Regions from separate parts of the Homo sapiens genome. Here region 2 is linked to region 1. Evidence: promoter capture Hi-C in 16 types of primary human blood cells and fetal thymus (Javierre and others, 2016). All regions are on one chromosome and are shown on one strand. The core of a region is centred on a gene start or on the middle of the fragment in contact, and the rest is flanking DNA. Distances in the headings are between cores, read along the strand shown. Region 1 holds the start of KRT71 (keratin 71). Region 2 overlaps KRT82 (keratin 82).

The links. The method cuts DNA at HindIII sites, captures the fragments that hold promoters and counts their contacts. A CHiCAGO score of 5 or more calls a contact.
Region 2: a fragment that was not itself captured here is called in contact with the fragment with the promoter of KRT71 in region 1 in 2 of 17 cell types (M1 macrophages and M2 macrophages); the score reaches 5.2 in M1 macrophages.

Annotation. Positions count from the first base shown.
Region 1 is chr12:52,550,525-52,555,036 of GRCh38, forward strand. It overlaps KRT71 (keratin 71), which reads right to left and starts at 2,621. Exons shown (of 9, transcript NM_033448.3): 1 at 2,113-2,621. The coding sequence starts at 2,553. The HindIII fragment of the contact is 3,012 bases long and covers 1-2,806 here.
Region 2 is chr12:52,398,450-52,402,961 of GRCh38, forward strand. It overlaps KRT82 (keratin 82), which reads right to left. Exons shown (of 9, transcript NM_033033.4): 3 at 2,840-2,900; 4 at 2,078-2,173; 5 at 1,536-1,700. Among named protein-coding and RNA genes, the nearest start is that of KRT82, 5.6 kb to the right of the region's middle. The HindIII fragment of the contact is 2,325 bases long and covers 1,174-3,498 here.

The DNA of each region.
Region 1 (4,512 bases), core at 1,371-3,870:
CCAACTCAGGGCTTGGCTGTGATTGAAAATACCAGCAGAGAAGCCAGGATGGGTCCACCATTTTGGACAGGTTGACCATCCTGAAGAAAAGTCTGCTCTTCATTTCAGGGCATGTCAGAGCTCAGTAAGGCTTGGGCCAAGGGCTTCTAGGTATTTTAAATGCCTGGAGCAGGCACCAGCTTCATCTTTGCTTATAGCCCCTCCTCTCCCTCCTTGGTCCTGCTCCCCAGAACCATCTTCTCTGCAACAAGCATGGCACATGGAACATGATGGACAGATGGAGCTCCTGATCCCATTGTAGCCCCTCACTGAGGCAGGAAACTGGCCAGAAGGAGATGTCCATACACACCTCTTGTTTGGTTTTTGGGGATGGGGAGCACAGTTTTTAAAATGTGACTTCCCTTAATCTACATGAGCACAGCTACTGCTTGAATAAGGTTGTCTTCCCCAACATCAGAAACACAAGACATGGGAAAACTATCTAAGATTCAGTGTCAAGATAGAATTATTCCCCGAAAATTTGTCTCTAGCCCGTCTTCCAGCATTTGGTCTGGTTTAACCAATCCTGAATTTTTCATGTGATCTACGAGGCTGAGCATTAACCACAGAGTAAATCCTGCATCTGAGACACCACAATACACACCTGCACTACTGAACACATCTGGATGCCGAAAGGATTTACCCGTCTTCTCTGGCTGCCTGAGGTTAAGGGACTGATCTCTGGAGACTGAAATTATTTGGGAACTGTCCAAGCCTTTCAGCCTCCTTCCCCTCCCTCTGGGCAGACCATCTTTATAAACAGGATGTGACCCTCCTCATGTTCATCTTTCTTCCCATGTCTCCAGACTTTATCCTTCTGTAGGTTTTGACCAGCCGAGCCAAGAATCAATCAGTCCACTCCCATCACCCAGACCCCATCTCAGAACACTTTGATCTTGCAGATATGAAAAGGCTTAGAAGAATAAGAAGCCGCAGAGCCAGTCCTAGCCCCTGAGGCTGAGCCGAGGGCAGCAGGGACTCCTCCAGGCAGGAAGTCTGAGCTGCAGGAGCTGGCTAAGCTCTGATGGCCACATGACCGTCTCACCCATAGACTTTGTCCTGGGTTGACCCGTCCTTGGTGCCTGACTGCCACAGAGCCAACAGAACCCTCCAGTCTCCTCCTCTGGGTCTGGAGGCAAAAGGCTGAGGGTCCAGCCTCACCCTTCCCTTTCCCCAAATGACCCTGGGAATGCCATTTACCTCCATGCCTTCAGTGACTCATACGATAGGGATAATCATTTCTTCTCTGCCAGAAGTCAGGGGCCTATCTGGACTGTGTCATCTCTTCAGGTCTCTAGACACCTTTGATTCCTCCCCTGAGCTTCCCTCCCCCACATTCCAGAGATAAGAAATGAGAGTCACAATCACAATCATTTTTGGAGTATTTAGTGTGCGTCAGGCTTGTGACAAGATCTTCACCTGCATTTTCTTTTATAAGCCTGACAACAACCCCAAGACAGAAGTTATTATCTCCATTTTAGAGATGAGGAGATGGCAACACAGACAGGCAGATCACCTTCCCAGAGCCACTCAGCTGTGGCCAGCAGTGAGCACAAGAGCACCGTGGAGTCCCCTTCCCCAGTGCCCTCTTCTGCCTCTCAAGAAAGTCTTCAACTGACTGGAGCAAATGCCCAATCAGAGGGCCTGAAGCGGCCCCTTCCTGCTGCTCCTGATCCGCTGGGCAAGTGACCAGTGGGCAGGGCAGCATGCCAGGGGAGGAGGACAGCTTCCCTGCTTACTCTGGGCGAGACTGGCTCTCACAGGCCTTTTCTGCACACGGCCTGCAGGCCTAGCAATGGCACCAAGCTAGCCCTCAAGAGGAAGGACCACATCTCTTGCTGGGAGCCCTGAGAAGCCTCTGCCAGTAGAAATTGACCTGCCTCTGTTTTCTCTCTGGAAAGACAACACAGAGAACCTTACACAGGTCACCCTGTTGATGGGATGTACCTACCTTGTCCACAGTAAAGTCTTCCTCACATCTAACCTCAATCTCTCCTGCTGTAACAAAATCGTATGTTCCAAGAAGAGAAGAGGAGGGCTGTTCACAAGTTCCCCAGGCCCTAGAAGACCCACCTTGTCGATGAAGGAGGCGAACTTGTTGTTCAGAGCCTTGATCTGCTCTCGCTCCTGGGCACGCACTTTCTGGATCTCGGGGTCCAGCTCCACGTTGAGGGGGGCCAGGAGGCTCTCATTGACGGTAACCTGGTGGATGCCTCCAGGTGGGCATACAGTTGGGCACACAGGCCCCAGGGCCACACTGCCAAACATGCTTCCAGCAAAGCCACTGGCCCGGCCCCGGCCAAATCCATAGCCTCCACTCTTCCCGCTGCCACTGGCCACATTGAGGCTCCGGACACCCCCCAGGCTGTAGAGGCTCCGGCTGCCAAAGCCCCCACTGAGCCCTTTGCTCCCTGCCCGGAAGGAGGATGAGCTGCCCCCTGAGAGCACAGCTGAGCAGCCACTGAAGCCCCCCTTGGCGGCAGCTCCCGACTTGCAGGTGAATTGGCGGCTCATGTTGCTGGTGGAGACAAAGCTCAGATGCAGGAGGGAGGAAGGCAAAATCCCAAAAGGTTCTGCTGGTTGTAGTGAGGACTGGCAGGTGCCTTTATATGTGCTTGGCACTGGGGCTTGTGGATGGGCAGTCAAGAGCTTAATTCGTGGGTTTGGCTTGCCTGGGAGCAAGAAGTCATTTTCTCTATGCTGAGCTAGAGATCAAGCCCTCTCCACCTCTGAAACAACATGAAACCTTCAAATTGCTGGGCTTGCAAGCTTTGCTCATGTAATTTGGGTCTTATCTAATTAACCTGCTGTTATAGGGTAATTTGCCCCAGGCCCTGGCCTCTCCAGGGGGATGTCACTGGCACTGCACCATCCCTATCCTGATTAATCTTCTCTGGGTTGTTGGCTTCCTCCTGGGGATGCAGCAGGTGAAGACAGGATGGACTTTCCTGGATAGTTCAGGACACTGGGTAGAGTACTGGGGCCTCCAACTTCTGTTCTCCTCCTTCCTGGAAAGGGACTGATCAGGCATTACCTCTCCCCAGGCCTCCTGGAAACATAACCCATAGAGGGCAGCTGCTCTCACTCATGGGGTATTAGGAGGTGGAGTGACCCTCTCGCTAGCATGGGACAGAAGCAGCCCAGGCCAGAGCCAACCACGGGCACTATCCTCACTTCTCCCCCCTCAAACACCCATAATAAAGCAGGCTGGAGGCTTCAAACACTGGAGAAAATGAGGACGAGAAAAGGAGGATGGAGTTGGGGCAGGTGGCTGAGAAATTCAGGGACTTGACTGGAAGGAGGTACAGAGAAGACAAAGACAGAGGCTGGCCCATGGCCTGGAGGGTTATGGAGATTCCTGGGTGGTCCACTTCCTCATTTCTGTCTCTCCTCCAATGTGTATCTGCTAATAAGACTAGGAACAACTTGAGGACAGTAATCATCTGTTTAGAGTTCAAATAAAGAAGCTGTTATCAACATGAAACTTAACTCCTATTGCCTCTGTCCAGGCCCAAGTGAGCCAAGAACAAGGCTGGCTGAGCCCTCCCCAGGAGTGCAAGCCTCCAGGCAGGCTCAGACCAGAAAGACCCAATGGGGGCGACCCAGTAAGCACGATGTCATTCTACTCCAAACAGTCCTTTGATGCCAGCCCCAGAGACTCTGGCTGCAGCCCCTGCTTCCTAGCCACTGGCTCCTGTGTTGGGCCCCAGCTACTCCCATGATCGCCATTGCCACTGTGGCCCTATTCAACCCAAGGCAGCTCTGTCCCTGAAGATCACCCTTGCCCAGAGATCCCTGCTGGAGCCCCATGGGTGAACAGCAGCTCTTTGCTGGGTGGGGCACAGGAGGGAAGAAAATCTGGAGACAGGCTGGTTTGGGGCTCTCTCTCATATTGTTTAGGGGAAGAGCCTGGACTCCAGTCCCTCCCAATCCTCTGCATTCCTTCCTCTACTCTTGCCCCTGCCATTTTGTCTTCTTTGCTCTTACTGAAACTACCCGAATTTTCCTATCCCTGCCTTCTCTCTTTCTCACCTTCTCTCTCCATCCCTCCTCATCCCTCCCATCCATCTTCCCTCCATCCTTCCCTCTCAGCCTTTCGCCATCTCTTGTTCTGTCACTTCCCCATCCTGCTCTCCTCCAGGAGGTCTTCCTGCACCCACACAGGCCAGGTCTGAGCTCTCCTTACCTCCCTCCGCTCTGAACACATCCTTAGCATGTGCTGGTGGGGCTGCAACTCTGTGACAGCTCCCATGGGGATCCTCTGAAGCCATGTCACATGTCATCTTAGTTTTTCTTTGTAAGGCTAGCAGAGTCTTCTCCAGATTAGAGACCACCTAGTGCACTCTGAGATGGAGCAGGGACGCCCTCGTAGGGGCCTTCAGGTCCCCTCAAGCATGGAAATAAAGGACAATCTTGAGTTCCTTCAAGGGAAATTCTGGGCACCTTGCTAGCCTGGAGAAATAAATAAGCAAC
Region 2 (4,512 bases), core at 1,086-3,585, 150 kb before region 1:
ACTTTAGAAAAAAGTAAAAATTCAATTTTAACTTTTTTTTTTTTTTTTAGAATTTCTGATCCTGGTAGCCAAATGCAATCTTCAACTAATAGAATTTTCTCTAAGATTCTGACTTAGCAGGATGGGAAAATGAGGTGGTTGTAATCCTGAACCCAACATGGCTGATGGTTGTTGCCAGGGGCAACCAGAGGAAGGGCCAGCCAGAGTGAAACCTGGCCGTGGGTGGGTCACAGACAGGTTCACCAGGAGCTGACTCCATTTCAAGTTTTCATACTTCCAACCACCATGGAGCTCCAGAAAATGGGCAGAGCATCACTTTGGGCACTCCCTGGGCAGTGGCACCCACTGCCTTCAGAACAAAGCCAAATGACTTAGCACAGCCCTGCAGATGCTGTGACCTGGCCTCAAGCTACCCCTCCAGCCCGATCTCCACAGCACATGGCACTCCAGGCCCCTCAATTTCTGCTGCTGTGTCCTAGCACCTGCTGCTCAGCCTGGCACACCCTCCCCCCATCTCCCCTTTGAATCTTATTTGTCCTTCAAGATTAGATCAAATGACAACACCTTTGCCTTTGTGACACAATTTGTTCCCTCTGTCATCAAACTCCCTTTACCTGCTGCTCCACCTTTGCAATCACTTCCTGCTAGCTGGTGTTTTGGTTTGGGAAGCACATCCTTGCTGGCCACCCTAATTGAAACTGCACTCCAACACTCCCTACCCTTCCCCTGGTTTATTTGCTTCCTAGCACTTGGTATCACAGTCTAACATACATCCACTGCACTTATGTGCCTTGTTTATCATCCATCACCCTGCCCCTCCAACCCTACCCTGGAACCCAGCTTGTCTCTGGAATGAAAGCGACATGAAGGCAGGGACTAGTGTCTGTTCTGTTCCCTGCTGTGTCTCCAGCTTCTAGAACTGTGCTTGGCACGTGGTTGATGCTGAATACACAGTGTTGAATGAGTGGACCAATGAGTGCATGCATGCATGGCGCCTTTCACAGGCAGGGCAGGAGAGGCTGAGATGATGATATTTGTTAAATCTAATTACCCTTAGGGCCCCCCTGCCCTCCAAGCAAGCCCCTAATTATTAAGTCTGAGGCCATCTTAATCACTGTTTCTGCTCTACCATTAGTAGCCACCCCATGCCACTAGCCTCCTCCCACGCCTCGAAGCTTAGAGCCCTCTTTGCCATCATTACAGTTCAGTAAAACCAATTAGTGTTTACTGAACGCTGCCTACAGGAGCACTTCCAGTGAGTCTGCAGGTAAAAACTGCTGGGCGCCCTGGCACCCTGATGACAGGCCTGGATTGTCCGGGGCGGGGAGGGGTCCCTCCCACGTGCTCTGCAGGGAAGTGGCCTGGGGCCTGGCAGAAACAACAGCAGCTGGGCTTTATGGGATTCCCTGTGTCTGTGGCATGGCGTGGCTCTCATTAGCTCCTCACCCACTTCTGCGGAGAAGGAGTCTGGGGGTCCTCCCCTCCCCTGGTTTGTCACCTCTCCAGTCTCCCTGCCCCCAACCACAGGGCCTCACCCGGCACTGGTACCAGGCCTCTGCTTCGGCTTTGCTGCGGCTGGCGATGTCGTCATACTGCGCCTTGATCTCAGCGATGATGCCGTCCACGTCCAGCTCCCGGCTGTTGTCCATCTTCACAATGACCGAGGTCTCAGAGATCTGAGACTGGAGCAGGCAGATCTCCTGGGGGCAGGGCCCATGTGAGAAGGAGTGAGCTCTCTGAGCGTCCGGGGACAGGAGAAGGGGAGAACCCGTTCTGACCTTCCCAGAGCAGAGTGCATAGAACTCTGCTATGGCTGTTCTGGGCTTCAGTCACCAACTGACTCCTTGTCCCCACCCTCTGGTTGCCCAGAGCTTGGTGGAGACTTTCCCAGAGGGGCCTGTGAGCCATGGCCTGGATGATCCAACTTCTGTGAGTCTCACCGCCTGAGAACGTCTCTACAGTGCGGACCTCTTTCCATGCTTGCCCTGAAATGTACCCACTGGGCGGCCACTCTGCTGCCCTCTCGATCCCTTGGCTCCAGCCCTGACTAACCACCCAAGGTCAGGGCTGTGGGTACCTCCTCATACAGGCTTTTCAGGAAGTCGATCTCCTGCACGAGTGCCTCTGCGTTGGTCTCCAGGTCAGCCTTCATCAGGAAGGCTGTGTCCACGTCCTGCAGCAGAGCAGGGACAGAATGTGACCTGGCTGGGCCACCTCCCAGGCAAGCTGGTGGCAGGGGGAAGGCGTGGGGCTCACCTTTCCTCACGAACACCCATGGGCATCGAAGGGGTGATGGAGCCGAGGTGGGGAAAAAGGGGTCCCTAGCCCTGGGACCCCAGGCCTGGGCCTGGCTTCCTGATGGGAAAGGATCTGAAGGGGGTGGGGCTTAAATGAGCCTTAGCAGCAGCATCTCAGAGCCCACTTTGCAGAGCCTGGGCCTGGAAATACCTGGCTACCTGTCTGAGGAACCATCGCAATTGTATTTGGGGGCTTGCGGCAGAGCTTTTGAGCTTTTGTTTTGGTTTGGCGTTGGCATCTGTCCCATCTCCAGCTGCTCGGGCAGGGTTAGACATGACTTTAACCCAGCTTCGGCCTGCATGAGTGGGGAAGTGGAGGCCAGGCCAATGGCTGGCCTTTTGCAAGGGGACAAAGTTGGGGGAGAGGAGGCCGGCCTTCCTCATTCTCAGAGTTAGTGGGGCTGGCACAGGAGTCTGAGGGGCGAAAAACCCTTTTTCAGAGTGGGTGGGCTGCAGACACGTTTGGACTGAGTTCAGGGCTAGGTGGCCTGGGGCAACGCAGGCCAGCTCAGGGGCTCTGCCTCTCTGAGCTTCCTCCTTACCTTCTTCAAGGCAACAAACTCATTCTCAACACAGGGACGCAGGGAGAGCTCCTCTTCGTATCTGATGGAAAAGGCAGGAAAAAATGCTTTAGTCGGGCTTGTGGATTTTGGAAGAGATCTTGGCATCAGGCCTTTGGGGGCAACTCTGCCTGTCACTGACTGAATGCCCTGGGGAGTGCCCAGGTCCAGCCCTGTCTTGGCAACTCTAGCTCCTCCACCCACTTGAGATGGATGAGTAGCCACTTGTCAAGTTTACTCTTCTCCCCATTCCTCAGGAACCTTCTCCCGCGATGAGTCCTCCCTGGGAGATCCTCCTTAAGGCTACCTTCATTCTCTCTTGCTGCTGAGGAGGTTCACTTCACCTAGTGGCCTCCCTTGGGAACGTAGAAGAAGGCTGTGCTGCTGGCCTAGCTGTTTTTTTCTGAGTCACTGAAATTCCCGGCTGACCCTGTGCATCCTCCTCGCTGGGAGGGTTCAGAGCCTGGCCTCTACCTGTGGTCCATTTGCAGAGGTAGCAATTATCCATCTTACCAGACCCACAGAGACAGCCAGGCTATTTCCTCAGGCTCCTTGGGGCTCCTCAGCCCACTCACCACTCCCCTAAGGCAGAGGGAATTGGTCAGGGGGTTCAGTTTGATAAGCAGCATCAATTCATTAAAAGCTTCTCTGCTTCATCATGTCCATCTCTCTTTTTTTCCAGCAGAACTGCTGCAGCAACGGCCCTGGACTCTGGAGCCTAGCCCCCTGGGTTTGAATTCTGGCTCTGTCCCGTGCAAGCTGTGGGCAAGTTGGGTAAGTGACTTGGCCTTTCTGCCTCATGATGCACAGCTTCGTCATCCATAGAATGAGGCTAACACTAGTTCTGCCTCACAGGGCTGTTGTGAGCTAACATGTCACATGCATTAATACCTGAAGAGCACTAGGACAGTGCCTGGTACAGGCTCTGTACTGTGAAAGTGTTTGCTATTATTCTTAAAATACCAGTTGGACCTCATCCTTCCCCGATTGTCTCACTTTTAAAAGCCAAAGTTCTCATCTTGAGCTGCAAATCCTGTCTCTTAATCTCACCTTGCTACTCACTCCTCAAGAAAGGCATTGCTTCTGCTGACAGGCTGGCCTCCAGCCCTCCCACAGCCTCACTGCATCTCACCTGTCACAGTCTGCTAGAGTTGTCCCCTTCACTTGGCAGGCCCTTCCTCTTTCTTGCCACCCATTCCTGTCCTTTCCCCATTTCCAAAATGGAGGATAATGCCATTGGAATGAGCCATTATCCTCCAAGGGCCAGAGCAAATCGCACCTCCTCCAGGAAGGCTTCCTGGACTCCCGCTCTTTCCCTTTCTTGGGATTCCTCTCCCTTCTTCTCTGTTTGTGTGTAGGTGCAGGTGGTCTGTGCACACTGGACTGGGAAAGAGTTAGCCTTTTTTCTTTCAATAGCACCCACACTTTCTAGCACAGTGTCTGGCATTGAGTAGGCATGTGGTTGACACCTGCAGTGAGTGTCCCCAACACGGCTCCACTTCACTGACCCAAACCCTTATGACCTGTTGCTCTCAGTATATTTGCCCTGTTTCTCCTCAATAGAAAGACACCTGTTTCAACTTGCCTGCCTCTAACATGCACTCCCATAGGACACTGGACTGTCACAAGGCACTGGATTCCCATGGGGCACTGGA